Regions from separate parts of the Homo sapiens genome. Here all the other regions are linked to region 6. The links are contacts of gene promoters, found by promoter capture Hi-C in blood cells and fetal thymus (Javierre and others, 2016). All regions are on one chromosome and are shown on one strand. The core of a region is centred on a gene start or on the middle of the fragment in contact, and the rest is flanking DNA. Distances in the headings are between cores, read along the strand shown. Region 1 has its middle 69 kb from the start of TMEM196. Region 2 overlaps MACC1-OT1 (MACC1 3' UTR overlapping transcript 1). Region 3 overlaps MACC1-OT1 (MACC1 3' UTR overlapping transcript 1). Region 4 overlaps MACC1-OT1 (MACC1 3' UTR overlapping transcript 1). Region 5 has its middle 140 kb from the start of TMEM196. Region 6 holds the start of ABCB5 (ATP binding cassette subfamily B member 5).

The links. Contacts are between HindIII fragments. The CHiCAGO score rates a contact against its expected background, and 5 or more counts as called.
Region 1: a fragment that was not itself captured here is called in contact with the fragment with the promoter of ABCB5 in region 6 in 1 of 17 cell types (M2 macrophages); the score reaches 5.4 in M2 macrophages.
Region 2: a contact is called between a fragment that was not itself captured here and the fragment with the promoter of ABCB5 in region 6, in 1 of 17 cell types (M2 macrophages). The highest score is 5.3, in M2 macrophages.
Region 3: a fragment that was not itself captured here is called in contact with the fragment with the promoter of ABCB5 in region 6 in 1 of 17 cell types (M2 macrophages); the score reaches 6.0 in M2 macrophages.
Region 4: a fragment that was not itself captured here is called in contact with the fragment with the promoter of ABCB5 in region 6 in 1 of 17 cell types (monocytes); the score reaches 5.0 in monocytes.
Region 5: a contact is called between a fragment that was not itself captured here and the fragment with the promoter of ABCB5 in region 6, in 1 of 17 cell types (M2 macrophages). The highest score is 5.2, in M2 macrophages.

Annotation. Positions count from the first base shown.
Region 1 is chr7:19,841,217-19,843,916 of GRCh38, forward strand. No RefSeq gene overlaps it. Among named protein-coding and RNA genes, the nearest start is that of TMEM196, 69 kb to the left of the region's middle. The HindIII fragment of the contact is 1,914 bases long and covers 342-2,255 here.
Region 2 is chr7:19,972,892-19,975,591 of GRCh38, forward strand. The region is part of intron 3 of MACC1-OT1 (MACC1 3' UTR overlapping transcript 1); the gene reads right to left. Among named protein-coding and RNA genes, the nearest start is that of MACC1-OT1, 170 kb to the right of the region's middle. The HindIII fragment of the contact is 4,567 bases long and covers 1-2,700 here.
Region 3 is chr7:19,945,585-19,948,284 of GRCh38, forward strand. All of the region lies in intron 5 of MACC1-OT1 (MACC1 3' UTR overlapping transcript 1), which reads right to left. Among named protein-coding and RNA genes, the nearest start is that of TMEM196, 170 kb to the left of the region's middle. The HindIII fragment of the contact is 2,664 bases long and covers 68-2,700 here.
Region 4 is chr7:20,015,602-20,018,301 of GRCh38, forward strand. All of the region lies in intron 3 of MACC1-OT1 (MACC1 3' UTR overlapping transcript 1), which reads right to left. Among named protein-coding and RNA genes, the nearest start is that of MACC1-OT1, 120 kb to the right of the region's middle. The HindIII fragment of the contact is 6,253 bases long and covers 1-2,700 here.
Region 5 is chr7:19,911,410-19,914,109 of GRCh38, forward strand. No RefSeq gene overlaps it. Among named protein-coding and RNA genes, the nearest start is that of TMEM196, 140 kb to the left of the region's middle. The HindIII fragment of the contact is 4,445 bases long and covers 1-2,700 here.
Region 6 is chr7:20,614,290-20,616,989 of GRCh38, forward strand. ABCB5 (ATP binding cassette subfamily B member 5) reads left to right here and starts at 1,378. Exons shown (of 28, transcript NM_001163941.2): 1 at 1,378-1,548. The HindIII fragment of the contact is 15,833 bases long and covers 1-1,450 here.

The DNA.
Region 1 (2,700 bases), core at 49-2,548, 770 kb before region 6:
TCTTCTGTGAAGGATCACAGTATATATTTTAGGCTGAGCAGCCCACGTACAGTCTCTGTTGTGCAATTCTGCTTATTTATGTTCTTATTATAAATCCTTTAAAATGTAAAAACCATGCTTAGCTTGCAACCACACAAAAAGATCATGGGCTAGATTGGCCTACAAGCTTTACTTTCCCAGCCCCTGCAGCCCAGGCAAGATGGTCGGCATTGGTATGGTGGAAGCTGGACAGTGGCTATGTTCAGTTTCCAGCAAGCAGTAAGGAAGAAGAGAGTGTGGAGGAGGTGTGTGTAATGTCTTAAATCCTAGAAATCACTCAGGACTTCATTAGAGGCAAAGAAAGCTTAGTTGGTCAACTAGCCACAGATATATTATATAGGAAAAAGGAAGAATGGGATTTTGTGAATGATAAGCAATTTCCCTTCAGTGGTTTTGAAGAGGTGACAAATTATTACCCTATCTAGGACAACCATGCTTCAGATTTCATGACTATATGGATTAAGTCATATTATATAGCAAATATCTTCCTAAAACACTTCATAATTTGTTTTCTCCTTTCAAAAATGTGAAAGTATGTAATTATCAATTTATCTTTTCTTCCATGCTTTTCTTGCCACCATGTTAAAATGCAATTACTTTGACAGTTATTCAAATTACCTAAAATATGAATTTCTAATTAATAAATTATATATTTTCTTAAAATAGATATTCTTTAATGTCAAATTTGTAGAAAAAATAGGTCTATTCAAAATATACATGTAAAATTTGGACTAGCAAGCAAGAATGGCTAAATATAATATCTGCTTTTGGGTTAGAATTAAAATAAGTTTGAGAAAGAATAATGTCCAAATTAAGATGGGAAAAGTAATGCTTAAATTCACTGTAATATCAAAAGTCAAACCAGACTGCATAACTAACTTTTTATACTCATTAGCAGAAGATTCACATTTCTTCTAACATTAGCATTAGAAATATATTAAGTGCCTGCCATTAGAAATATGCAACTGCCTGCTATGTACCAGGTGCTGGGCAAAGGGCTTTACATTATCTCCAATACTCACAAGATCTTGTATGCAAGCATCATCCCCCTTACTTTACAAATGAAGATATTGATGATCAAAGAGGTTCATTAAAATTTCCTAATTTAAACACAGAGCAATAATTTATACCAGCTATTTCTGATCTCAAAGTTTGTGTTCCCTCCATTAGCTTTGCTTCATGATACCTTGCAGTATCATGAGAACCCAGTTTGATGGTTCATATTACCGAGAAAATATATAGGTACTTTGACACTTCCTGGCAAGATAAAGAAAGTGATAGTACTAAAATTTGTGGAATGCATGATGTTTGGTTTAGAATAAATTCTATTATTTTAAAAAATGTTGCATAACTTTTGTTCTTCATTGCAGAGAAGATGCTACTGGGAGAAAAATCTGGATATTAAGGACTGAGTTAAAAAGTGACTCAGGAAAATGAAATACTGAGAAAAAAATTTAGAAATGTTTCAAACAATTATTTTGTTTACATTTATCTTTTCATATAGGCATGAGGGATTATAGTATAAAATTATGTCTAAATATATCTAAAATAGTTATTTAGGGATAATATAAAATGCTAAGGGACAAACAATTGAGTTATAATTGAAGCAGAAGTGTTTTTTTCTTTCCCAGCAGTATATAAAATAATAATTCATTTATTATTAATAAACATAAAATAATGTATTAATCTGACAACCAATAATGTTAGATTCAATAAAAGTAAACTATTACCAAATGCTATAATTGGATCTTTACTAATACACCACTGGTAATAAAAATGTTGTGTCATATTGGACCAATTGTCATAGTAAAGAAATAGAAGCTATATAGAAGATGGACTAGTAGTCCTCACAAAAGTAAAATTATTAAGATAATTTAAAGACTAAGTTAGTGATATATTAACCTTAACATATCAGGTGTTGTTAGATTAAGTTTTAAAAACAAAAAGGAATATGGAAAATCTCATTGGTCCATATTTTTTTTCTTTCTAGCTGTCTGCTGGAGTCTTTGCTTTGATAATCATAAGGATTCTTCTAGGTTCCTAAAACTACAGGTTTAAATAATTCATTTATAATTGTTTCCCATTAAGAATAGTGAACACCAAGAATTGATGCCAAAGGAAAATAAAATGTTAGTGTGTTCAAAGGACCACAATTTAACTACAGTTTGCAAATGTGTATAACATCTCCAAATAATTTAATTTCACTTATGGAACAAAGCTTTTGCATTAATATTTAATTTCCAAAAGTTAAGGGGCATGGTTAATTAAAGATTTACATATATTACATACTTTAACACATTCTGGAGAAATTTGTTTATTAATCAGACTGTTGCTTTTTCAGGCCTAAGTTGCAGTTAAAATGTGAATTAGGTACAATGTTATATATTTCTAACCTTTGCATTTTCTTTTAAAATTTTCAAATCCAGACATAATCTTGCAACCATTTATCTCTTCTCTTTACCTTCATCAATGTGTCAACAGGACCGAAATGTTATTTTTATAAATATTTTTTACTAGAATTTCTTAAATACAGAAAATCCCTATGTTCAGCTGAGAGGTTAGAACTGGACTAACATAAATTTAACCCTAGATCTAGAATTTAGTTAGTTTTTTATATATTGGATAAGCTACTTAACCCCCTAAGTACTTTGATATCTTTTC
Region 2 (2,700 bases), core at 160-2,659, 640 kb before region 6:
TTTATGTTGAACCTCCCATACCACACCAGAGTGGTATACTTTTTACAACTGATGAAACTACATTGACACATCATTATCCATTAACATCCATAGTTTATTTCAGGGTTCACTTTGGGTAGTATGCATTCTATGGATTTTGACAAATGAATAATGACATGTAGCCACTATTGTAGCATCATACAAAATAGTTTCACTTCCCTAAAAATTTTCTGTGCTTCAACTCTTCTTCCCTCCTGCCTCCTTAACTCTTGGAAACCACTTTTTACTATATCCATAGTTTTGTTTTTTCCAGAATGCCATATTTTGAAATCGTATGGTATATAGCCTTTTCAGATTGGCTTCTTTTACTAAGTAATGTGCATTTAAGCTACCTCTTTGTCTTTTCATGGCTTGAGAGCTAATTTCTTTTCTTTTCTTTCCTTTTTTTTTTTTTCTTTTTTTTTTTGAGACAGAGTTTTGCTCTATCGTCCAGGCTGGAGTGCAGTGGCGCAATCTCCGCGCACTGCAACCTCCACCTCCTGGGTTCAAGTGATTCTCCTGCCTCAGCCTCCCGAGTAGTTGGGACTACAGGTGTATGCCACCACACCCGGCTAATTTTTTGTATTTTTGGTTGGAGGGGTTTCACTGTGTTAGCCAGGCTGATCTCGATCTCCTGAGCTCGTGATCCGCCTGCCTCAGCCTCCCACAGTGCTGAGATTACAGGTGTGAGCCAGCACGCCCAGCCTGATAGCTCATTTCTTTTTAGTGAATAACATTCCATTGTCTGTATGTATTACATTTATTTATCCATTTACCTACCGCAGGACATCTTTGTTGCTTCCAAATTTGGGTAATTATGAAGAAAGCTGCTATAAACATCCATGTGCAGGACTTTGTGAACATATGTTTCCAACTCCTTTGGATGAATACCAAGAAGCATGACTGCTGGGTTGTATGCTAAGAGTATGTTTAGTTTTGTAAGAAACCACCAAACTGTCTTCAAATTGGCTCTACCATATCACCAGCAATGACTGAGACAGAAATGGATGTACCATATCATCAGGAATGACTGAGAGTTTCCACTGCTTCACATCTTCACCAGCATTTTGTGTTAGTGTTCTGGATTTTGGCCATTCTAGTAGATGTGTAGTGGTTTCTCATTGTTGTTTCAGTTTGCATTTCTCTTATGACATATAACGTGGAACATATTTTCATATGTTTATTTGCCATCCATATATCTTCTTTGGTGAGGTGTCAAGATCTTGGCTCTTTTTAAATTGTGTTTTTAATTTTCTTGTTGTGGAGTTTAAGAGTTTTCTGTATATTTTTTATAATAGTTTTGCATTTACAGTATTTACATATGTAATCCATCCTAATTTTTGTGAAAGGTGTAAGGTCTATGTCTAGATTCTTTTCTTTTTTTTTTTTTTTTTTTTTTGCATGTGAATGTCTAATTGTCCTAGCACTGTTTGTGGAAAAGACTGTTTTTGCTCCATTGTATCATCTTTGCTCCTTTTTTGCAGATCAGTTGACTATATTTATGTGGGTCTATTTTAGGGCTTTCTATTTTGTTCCATTGATCTATTTGTCTATTCTTTCACCAGCACCGTACATTTTGATGACTGTAGCTTTATAGTAAGTCTTGAAATCAATAGTGTTAGTCCTCTAACTTTGTTCTTCTCCTTCAATATTGAATTGGCTATTCTAGTTCTCTTGTCTGTCCATATAAATTTTTGAATCAGTTTGTTCACATAATAACTTACTGAGATTTTGATTGGGATTGTGTTGTATCTATATATCAAGTTAGGAAGAACTGACATCTTGATAATACTGAACCTTCCTATCCACAAACATGAAATATCTCTCCATTTATTTAGTTCTTTGATATTTGAGTTTTGCAGTTTTGCTTATATAAATCTTGTACATATTTTGTTAGATTTATACTAAGTATTTCACTGTTGGAGGGAGTACTAATGTAAATGGCATAATGTTTTTAATTTCAAATTCCACTTACTCATTGCTGGTATATAGACAAATGATTGACTTTTTTATATTAATCTTGTATCATGCAACCTTGCTGTAATCACTTATTAATTTCAGAAAAATATTGTTAATTCTTTTGGTTTTTCCACATAGATAAGTATGTCATCTGAAAATAAAGACAGTTTTATTTCTTCCTTCCCAATATGCCTGTCTTTATTTCTTTTTATAAAAAACAAAAGTATTGCATTAGCTCAGACTACCAATATGATCTTGAAAAAGAAAGGTAAGAGGAACTCCCTTTCGTTTTTCCTTATTTTTGCAGGAAATTGTCTAGATTTTCACCATTAAGTATGATGTCAGCATAAGATATTTTTGTGTGTATATTATTTATCCAGTTAATAAAGTTTTCCTCTATTCCTAGTTTGCTGAGTTATTTGTCTCTCAGCAAAAACTCTCAGATTTGAATGAGTGTTAGATTTTCATCAAGTATTTTTTATGCATTTATGGATATGATCCTGTGATTTTTAGACTGTTAATATGATTACTTACCTTAATTAATTTTTCAATGTTAAATGAGCCTTGCATATTTGAGATAAATTTCCTGGTTATGCCATATAATTATTTTTATGCATAGTTAGATTTAATTTTGTTTTGTTATTATTTTGTTGAGGACTTTACATCTATATTTATGAGAACTATTGGTCTGTAGTTTTCTTGTAATGTCTTTGTCTGGTTTTG
Region 3 (2,700 bases), core at 150-2,649, 670 kb before region 6:
TTCTAATTTAGCAAAGTTCAGTGGTGACCTTGAGATAAGTAGTATTAGTAGATTAGTAGAGGACCAAAGCTTGATTGGAATGGATTTAATAGCAATTGAAAAGAGAAGTTGAAATAGAGATTAGGTATTTTTGTTGAGGTCTTTTGTGGGGGCAGCAAACAAATGCTGGCAGGCAGGAGAAGTGGGGCCAATAACATTGACATTATTGAGAATTATTACTGCATATAACTGAAATTGTAGTCTACCTGACCATAAACGATTGCCCAAGAATGGGTCACCAACAAAGGTGAGTCAATGTATAGACTGACAATGGCAAATAATTATCTGGTATGAAAGAAGTGACTTGCAGAGATGATGGCAGTAATTGGACCAATCTTAGAGTCTTTCCAAAAGCATTTGAATCAGAAACATTGAACCAGAAATAGTTGAGATGCTGGTAGAAACAGAAAAGGCTCAAAAACATACTAAGTCAAACAGAATCAGATAATATAACTTAATGATTTTTAATAGCAGTTCACAGTGACTAGAAGAATCAACAAAATCCCATTTTTACCAAGTAGACTCTAGGCTGTCTCAGTCACCTTAGCAATGGTGGATTCTAAAGAACTGCTCAGATTTTGTGAGACTCAATTTCAAATTTCTTACCGTGTTTTCCTGAATTTACTATTTAAAAGGCAATGCATTCACATGGTGCACAATCCCAAGGGTGCAACAGGATTTACAGTAAAAATCTTCCTGCTGCCCCCACTCCCAAGTACCTAGTTTTTCACTCTGAGGCAACAGCTTATCAGTGGTCTGCATACACTTCTAGAGTAATTGTGTGTATTAAACCGATACGTGTATAAAAGTATGTATGGGTGTATATGTGCCCACATGAACATGCTTTTATCAAAAAACATGGAAATTAATTTATGCCAGTGCATAAAAAACTTCCTCATTATTTTCTTTAGCAGTGGATGCAACATGGTGTAACCATGTCCCATCTTGATGGACATGGGATTATTTCCTATCTTTGGCTTTTTTACATAAAACTGCAGTGAGGAACTTTACATCCAAGTCGTTTTGCATGCACAAAGTTTATCTACATAATGTATTTCAGAAGTTAAATTCCAGAATTAAATGAGCAGGTGTTTATAACTCTGACAGGTGTTGCCAAATGACTTTCCACAGTGGTTGTAAAAAGTTACATTTCTATGAAAGTTGTTTCCCCACATCCTAGAAAACAGAGTTCACGATCAAATAGTATTTTTAAGTATTTGCCTATCAAAAGGTAATATGTATCTCAATATAGGTTTAAATCATAATTATCTTATTATGAGAGCAGCTAGGAATATTTTCACATACTTAAGAGCCACTCCTATTTTATGTTTATAAAATATTTATATCTTCTTTGGGTTGTTGATCATTTTCCTTATCAAGTGTAGTGCCCCTTTCTATGAGACAGAAATTAGCTTTTTGTCTAATATTCATTGTAAATACTTTTAAACTGTTTTCTCTTTGTTTGTATTTCTTCATGATGCATTTTTCTGTGAAAGAAGATTTCACATGTGTGTCTGTGTACATGTGTGCACGCTTGGTAGTTGAATTTGTTAAAATGTTTCTTTAATATGACTTCCAGGTTATGTGTAATATCTAGAAAGGTCTTTCTTATGCAAAATTATAAAACAATTATTTTCCATTTTAAAAACACTTCTATTTACCTTTTTTATAGTTAAATCTCTAATTCATTTTTAAATAACCAGTGTCTAAGATGTGAAAAGCTAATCTAATTTATCTGATTTTTTCTTCTTTCCCAGAATGAATATCTGGTTTTCCCAATACTCATTAAATTCAATATTTCCAACTGATTTGAAATATTTTGTTTATCATATACTAAATTTTGATATTTTCAGAACTCTCTCTTCAGTTTTTATTTGGTTCCATTTAATTTGTTCATTCATTGGTAATAAACTGTCTTAACTTGTGTAACTAATTCATGTATATTAATATAACTTTATAATATATTTAGTCCTCTCATTTCATTTATTATAGCTAATTTTTTAACATGAAATTTAGAATCTCAACTGTGCATTATGGATCAGCTCCATTTCCTAACCAAGGAATAAAAGTTTAGTAATGACACATCTATGAGAAAAACTTGCTCAAATATTTATGTTTCTTCTCTCTCTCCCTCTATATATATATAAAGATATATATATAGTTGATATATATATGGTTGACATATATATAGTTTGTATCTATGTATCTATCTGTCTATCTATCTATCTCTCTATCGATAGATAGATATCTTTCTATCTATCGATAGATAGATAGATATCTTTCTGTCTCTCAGCAATGGTAAGCTCTCTCCTTTCCCTGGCTCCAAAGTTCTCAGTTTGATACAGTTTTGGTATTTGTCTCCACCCAAATCTCATGTTGGATTACAATCCCCAGTGCTGAAGGCAGGGGATGGTTGAAAGCGTTTGGATCCTGGGGGTGGATCTCTCATGGCTTGGTGCTGTCTTCGTGATAGTGTGTGAGTTCTTGGTCATTTAAAAGGGTGTGGCACCTCCCCACCCCCACTCTCTTTGTCCATTACGCCTGCTTTTGCCAAGTGACACGCCCACATCCTAGAAAACAGAGGTCATTATTAAACAATATTTTTAAATATTTGCCTATCAAAAAGCAATATGTACATCATTATAGTTTTAAATCATAATT
Region 4 (2,700 bases), core at 160-2,659, 600 kb before region 6:
TAATAAGAGGATCACAAATCAAGAAAATTATGTATCGAATGAATATGGAACTTCATTCACTTCTTTAGTAAATGTCTAAACAAGCCCATCTCCTGCTGTGCCATTTCTTGCTGTTACATAGAACTGATACTTAATTCTTGGCAATTTCCCTAGGCCGAGCTCTTTTTCTTGTCTAAACACCAATATTCTGGTTTGTACTTCTGTGTACAGGGTCAATCACATCTGCCTGCTCCTCTTCACCTTAGTCAAACCTCATCCTCTCAAATCTATCCTCACATGGGCCTCTGGCCTTCTGATCTGGCCTTTGCCCTTTGTCTCCCTAGACTCAAGGCATCATTTCGTTTTTCTCTTGTTAATTATCTTTACCCAACTGGTTTACAAGGCAAGTTGTTCACATCTGTTCTACCTCCTACCTAACCAAACTATCTCCATGGACTGCACTGCTCTGAGGCTGCTTAAGTAACAATGAAGCCAACCCTTCATTAGCAGAGAAAATAAAACCAAGCTGTGTCAGTTGTGAATGTCTGGTCTAGCAGTTTTCAGCATCCTTATATTCTTAGAGATTTAGTATATGATTGGAGGGAAAGGTTGACTGTAGACATAGATTACCTGGAGTCAAATCCTGGGTCTGCAACTTGGTAGTTGTGGAAACTTAGACAAATGAAGTGCCTCCGCATTACCATTTGTAAAGTTGGAGTAATATTCTCCGATTATTAAATAAGCTAATATAAATAAAGCCCTTAGAACAATACCTGATACATAGAAAGACTCAAATTAGTATTTGTTCTAGTTACTTACTCTAATATTCATGTTTAACTTCTTTGAACATAGTCATTACTAAACAAATACGTATGGGAAAATTTAGAGTGAATATTAAATAATAAAATAACAAAAGTAAAAAAGTTATGTCTTGGATGAATGTGTAAGTTCATTCCCTCCTTTATTAAATATTTATTGAGTTTCTGTGATGAGGCAGTCACTGTGCTAGCTACTGGGCAGATGACTGGGAATGAGATAAATGAAGCCTTTGCCCTTATGCACTTACATTATAATGGAGCTTAAATTTGAATTGATGAAGGAATACATCAGTGGCTTTGTGAATGCCAAGGCATATGATTGTAACCTTTATTCTGAAGTGGCTTTCTCTTTGCCAGATAAGAAAAGGCATCTTCGGGCATGGTCAACTATTTTGGAAATTCTGCCTCTGTTCTTTGTGACCTTGGAAGATGATTCATAATTGTATATTTATTAATCATGATAAAAATTGCTGACTCATTTTATAAGATTCAATTTTAATAAAACTTCATACGTGATGCTTCACATCAGCATAGCAAATAAAATATTAGCCCTGATAAAATATTCACTTTTTTGGTTTTGCTTCATTATTCTACAAAAAACCCCCATAATGTTATTTTTAATTATTAGATTGGTGCAAAAGTAGTTGCAGTTTGTGCCATTACTTTTGCACCAACCTAATATATATTTTACAACACATGTTTATTGATAGACTTCCAATAATACATAAAATAATAAAGTAAAACATCAATGGAAATCCAATTATCATGAGATTTAATAAACACTATTAATATGTTGTGATTTTCTTTTCATGAATCCCTTATGCACTCATGTAAAAATTTTACATAAATGGAATGATATTACATAAGAAGTTTTAGCCATTAATACTTTTCTTTCTTTTTTTTTCTTCTTTTTCATTTTGCCTCTATGAACAGTGCTGAAACAAACATCTTATGTATTGATGCTTTCACTTCTTTTTTTTTTTTTTTTTTTTTTTTTTTGAGACAAGAGGGTCTCATTCTGTCGCCCAGACTGGATTGCAGTGGCTCGATCTCCATGAACTGCAACCTCCGCCTCCCAGGCTGAAGCCATTCTCCTGCTTCAGCCTCCCGAGTAGGTAGGATTACAGGCATGCACCACCACGCCAGGCTAATGTTTGTATTTTTAGTAGAGACAAGGTTTTACCATGTTGACTAGGCTGGTCTGGAACTCCTGACCTCAAATGAGCCATCCACCTCGGCCTCCCAAAGTGCCGGGATTATAGGCATGAGCCACCGTGCCCAGCATGAGGCTTTCACTTCTATAGGTTAAATTCCAAAAGTAGGATTGCTAGGCCAAGGGGTATATATAGTTTTAATTTGTATTGACATTGCCCAGTCGCTTTTTTTTTTTTTTTTTTTTTTTTTTGAGACAGAGTCTCACTCTGTCGCCCAGACTGGAGTGCAGTGGCGTGGTCTCGGCTCACTGCAACCTCCGCCTCCTGGGTTCAAGCAATTCTCTGCCTCAGCCTTCCACGTAGCCGAGATTACAGGTGCCTACCACCACGCCCAGCTAATTTTTTGTATTTTTAGTAGAGACGGAGTTTCACCATCTTGGCCAGGCAGGTCTTGAACTCCCGACCTCGTGATCCACCCGCCTCGGCCTCCCAAAGTGCTGGGATTACAGGCATGAGCCACCGCGCCCAGCCTTTTTTTTTTTTTTTAATGGAGTCTTGCTCTGTCTCCCAGGCTGGAGTGCAGTGGCCCGATCTTGGCTCACTGCAACTTCCGCCCCCCAAGCTCAAGCGATTCTCTTGCCTCGGCCTCCTGAGTAGCTGGGACTACAGGCCTTCGCCACCACACCCAGCTAATTTTTTGTATTTTTAGTAGAGAAGGGGTTTCACTATGTTGGCCAGGCTTGTCTCGA
Region 5 (2,700 bases), core at 126-2,625, 700 kb before region 6:
GGAAGGGTAGGCAGGGTGGCAGTGGGGAGTGGGGATGGTAGGGTACAAAAATAATGTTAAATAGAATGAATAAGATCTAGTATTTGATAGAACAGTCAGCAAAAATTTATTGTACATTTAAAAATAACCAAAAGGGAATAATTGGATTTTTTGTGACACAAATAAAAGATAAATGCTTGAAGTGATGGATACCTCATTTACTACGATGTGATTATTACACAGTTTGTGCCCATATCAAAATACCTCATAAGTATTTATACCAAGTATGTACCCACTAAAATAAAAAAACCCATAATTCCTGGTTTATAGATGGTACCTAACAAAAGAATGTTATTAATAAATGTAACCAATGATAATAAGTATTAACAGCAGTATTTTATTATTACATTTTCAAAGAGTATGTCTACTGCCACCTCAGTTCAATATTTATACATCATGGTCTCTGTCTTTCATGGAATTAATAATCTAAAATATAACATTTTCTATAGACATATCTGTTTTTGAAATGTGTCATTAAACAATACAGAGTCAAATATGGAAAAACTTAATAAATATATTTTGTATTAAAACATAATTAGCAAAGATCTATTTCTAATATACAGTATGTAGATCTGTATTGATTTCCTTTTCCCCTCAACTGTGAATTTAGGCTACAAATCAAAGGAAAGAGAGCCAATGAGCCCTGATTAACAAGTCTTGCTGAGGACCAGAAGGCATTGTTGGCAGAAGTCATTTAGGGAGACTTGTTGCTAGGTATTGCCAACAAGTTGGTCCCCTGTGACCTGTACAAAAGGCTGCTGTAACAGAGTCTTGTGCTGGGATGGCAGGAACAATTCATGAATGTTATTTTAATACCTTAAAATACCTTCCTATATAGTGTAGCTCAGAATAAATTTCTATTTTTAAGATATGTATCTTATTGTCTTTGTTCAGTAATGATTTTTGTTTTACACCAACTTCGTTTATATTTTTCTTTATGTTACTGGCTTTTCAGCATTTCTTGGGCTCTTTTTAGAAATATAGAGATATTCCCACTATGAACTTGAAGGGATAAATATTATTTTGTTGTTGGTGTTGTGTCTGCAAAGATTAGCTTTGAACATTCACAATTACAATATCTACTTATTGGTAGTAGCTAAAATATTATTTTAAATGTTTAAAGAAATATACAGTTATAATCTCTAGCTTTTACTAGTGGGTACCTGATTATCAGCACATACTTTTCAATTCCATTCCTTTCTTTTGCTCCCCTCACCCCTAGTATAAGCATGGAAAATTAATACTTTCAAAAATAAGAGTCTGGATGGGACAAATGCTTTAAGCCCTCCAAATGATCTTAAATTTTTTATACAATACTTAATGTGCTTCCCATAACCCACTTTTCTATGCTTCCCTGAGAAGCACTGAGTCTAATGCTAACAATTTTAACTCAATCTACAAAGTGGTTCTTTAAATAAAAAATTATGACTGTCACACATTTGAAATTTTGTGTACTTTTATTCTACATCAACTAGTAATCAACTACAGGCACGACTCAGAGATGTTGTGGGCTCAGTTCACATTACCACAATAAAGCAAGTATCACAATATAGCAAATCACTGAAGTTTTTAGCTTCTCAGTTCATATAAAAGTTATGTTTACCCTATACAATAGTATATTAAATGTACAATAGCATTATGTTTAAAAAATCAATGTGCATACCTTAATTAAAAAATACTTTACTGCTAAAAATGCTAACAATCATCTCAGCCTTCAACAAGCCATAATCTTTTTCCTGGTTGAGTGTCTTGCCTCTGTGTTGATGACTGCTGACTGATTATGGTTGTGGTTGCTGAAGGCCAAGGTGGCAGTGGCAATTTCTTAAAATAAGACAGCATTGAAGTTTGCCATATCGATTGGCTTTTCCTATCACAAAAGAGCATGAAATCTTGTTTTATAGCATTTGATCCACAGAATAACTTTCAAAATTGGAGTCAGTCCTCTTAAACCCTGCTGTTTCTATATCAACTAAGTTTATGTAATATTCTAAATCATTTGTTGCCATTTCAACAATGTTCACAATATCTTCAGCAGTTCTTTTGCTATTCCTATCCCATAATCGGTGACTTCCTCCATTGAATTCCTGACCCCCTCAAAGTCATCCATGAGGGATGGAATGAACTTCTTCCAAATTCTTGTTAATATTGACATGTTGACCTTCTTCTACAAATCATGAATGTTCTTAAAGACGTTTAGAATGGTGAATCATTTCTAGGTTTTCAGTTTACTTTGCAAAGATTCATATGAAGAATTACTATCTATAGCAGCAATAGCTTTACAAAATGTATTTCTTAAATAATCTGACTTGGAAGTCAAATGATTTCTTGATCCATGGGCCATAGAATGAATGTTGTGTTAGCACACATGAAAACAACATTAATATTTTTGCATAACTCTATTACGGCTCTTGAGTGACCAGGTACACTGTCAAGGAGCAGTAATATTTTATTTTATTTTATTTATTTCCTTTGAGATGGAGTCTCACTCTGTCACCCTGGCTGGAGTGCAGTGGCACAATCGCGGCTCTCTGCAACTTCTACCTCCCCAGTTCCAGTGATTCTCCTGCCCCAGCCTCCTGAGTAGCTGGGATTACAGGCATCTGCCACCATGCCCAGCTAATTTTTGTATTTTTGGTAGAGACAGGGTTATGCCCTGTTGGC
Region 6 (2,700 bases), core at 128-2,627:
TACAGTTAATAATTCTGTATTGTATATTTGAAATTTGCTAAGAGAGTAGATCTTAAGCGTTCTCACCAGACACGCACACACACAAACACGTAAATATGTGAAGTGATGGATGTGCTCATTGCAGTAATCATTTCACAATGTATATGTATATCACATCATCATGTTGTAAACCTTAAATATAGACAATAGTATTTGTCAATTATACATATTAAAGCTGAATAAATAAAATAAATTAATTAAAATTATATAAAACTCAAAATTCAGCTCCCTCACTAGGCACATTAAAAGCGCTCAATAGCCACATATGTGTAGCGGCTAGGATATTGGATGTGTGGAGAATATCTCAATTATTGCAGAAAGTTCTGTTGGATGGCTCTGCTCTAGAAGTAACACTTTTAGCTACATTACACCACTTCTGTGCATTTAGATGACATCATGAGATTTTTAAAGCAAAATTAATTATTCCTTCTGTGCATATGACAATTGCAAGTTTATCTCTAGGTTGGCAATTTTCCTAATTATTAGTGCCACATTTACATCTGTTTGCCAGATATTTTCACTTGGACACCAATATCAACCCAAATTTGCATATTTAAACTGAATGTTACCATTTCCCCAAAACCAATTCTGTCTCATAACTTCTCTATTACCATCTTTACTACTCTTTTGTTACAACTTTTAAAAGTTTGATCGCTGAACTTATATTTTTTTTATTTCTTCTTCCTTGTCCTCTTTACCTACCTACCGCCTTAAAAATACCTCTCAAATAGTCTTACTTACTGCTATCAAACTAGATTTTAATGAGTCTACTTAAATCTTGTGTTTCCCCAAGTCCTTCCAGTATATCCATGGCTGTAATGTCAAATAATCAGGTTAATTGTACCAAATACCAATGGCTTTGTCTCTTTCATTCCAGAAAATTATAAAAGTTGTCCTAAAAATTGGTTCAGTGCCTTTTACAATCGTATGTACCTTATCTCTCTCTCCATTTCTGCATGAACAGTCCATCCTATCCAAACCGTTCTCATTTCTCTACCATGAGATAATTCACCTTGCATTCCTAAAACTATGCCCTTGTTCCTCCTCCACATTTTTCTACTTACTGAAACCTTAGCCTTCCTCCAGAAACTAACCTCAGGGCCATCCTCATCTGTGGGCGAAACCATTTTAGATCACAATGTTCTTCCTCAGTCTTCTTAGATACTAGAATAGTCACTCTTTGTACTATTCATCACATAACGTCTGTCTTGCCAGGTATATTAGGTTCCCCTAGAGAAATAGAATCAATAGGCCGTGTGTGTGTGTGTGTGTGTGTGTGTGTGTGTGTGTGTATGTAGAGAGAGAAAGAGAAAACACGCTCATGTAATTGTGGTGACTGGCACTTCCAAAATCCACAAGCCAGACTAGAAGGCTGGAAATTCTGGCAAAAAATTGATACCTTGTATCTGAAAGCTTTATCCTATCCTCTTCAGAAGACTTCAGTCTTTTCTCTTAAGGACTTCAACTGACTGGATGGGGCCCACTCAAAACAGCATCTAAGGAATTAAAGTAAGTCAAAGCAAAAGTATTAGAGATTATGAAAACAATTGAAGCTTGTGAAGAATATAAAACACTTCTCCATCTTAGAAAGAATAGTTTGTGGTAAAGATGGAAACAAAAATGTGTGTGTATGAAACTTTTTCATAGTCAGAAATGATCATCCTACTATTATTTTGGTCATTTTAAAGCATCCATACAATTCATATCTTCTTTCTTTCTTTCCCTGTGACAGGGTCTCACTCTGTCACCCAGGCTGGAGTGCAGTGGCACGATGTTGGCTCACTGCAACCTCCGCCTCCAGGGTTCAAGAGATTTTCCTGGCTCAGCCTTCTGAGTAGCTGGGATTGCAGGTGCCCAGCACCATGCCCAGCTAATTTTTTTATTTTTAGTAGAGATGGGGTTTCACCTTGTTGGACAGGCTGGTCTCGAACTCCTGACCTCAGATGATCCAGCCGCCTTGGCCTCCCAAAGTGCTGGGATTACAGGCATGAGCCACTGCGCCCAGCCATATCTTCTTTCATCTAACCAAAGATCCCATGTTTTCCATCCAACCAGTATATCTTAGCTATTTGTCAGATTATTCTTACCAAGGATGCTTGAACGTTAAGTGCATCTCATGATTTCTTCTCACATGGGTATTTTGTCCTATGATTTCCATCTTGGTACATGAACCTAGAAATATTTTTTAAGGCAAAAGTCCTTATAAATAAAATATTCTGTCTATTTTTACATTTTCTTGTATGTTCCATAGTACTTGCCATGATAGCATCCACACAGCTGTCAATAAGTAAGAATTGGCTGACTGATAGATTTTGTGTAGAGCAATTAAGATGTTCAGAGTTCTTCTCTCATGTTATCTACTTAGTGCTGGATATTACTACCTGATTATCTCACAAATATCTCAAACTTGACAAGTTTCAAGTTAAATTTATCTTCCTTTTGAAACATTGGGTAACAGAGAGGAACATGGGGGCAGCCATCATAGTCAACCTGTAGCTTTCCATACAGTGAGGACCTGCCAACTGGCTCACAAATTGCTTTGACCTTGTGTCGCTTTGTCTCAGTGCACTTTTCTCTACTATCTAAATAGTATTCCTTCTGCCTGGGATAGTCTTTTTGATCTTTATATAGCAACCTCCTTTTATAATTCAGATTGCAGCT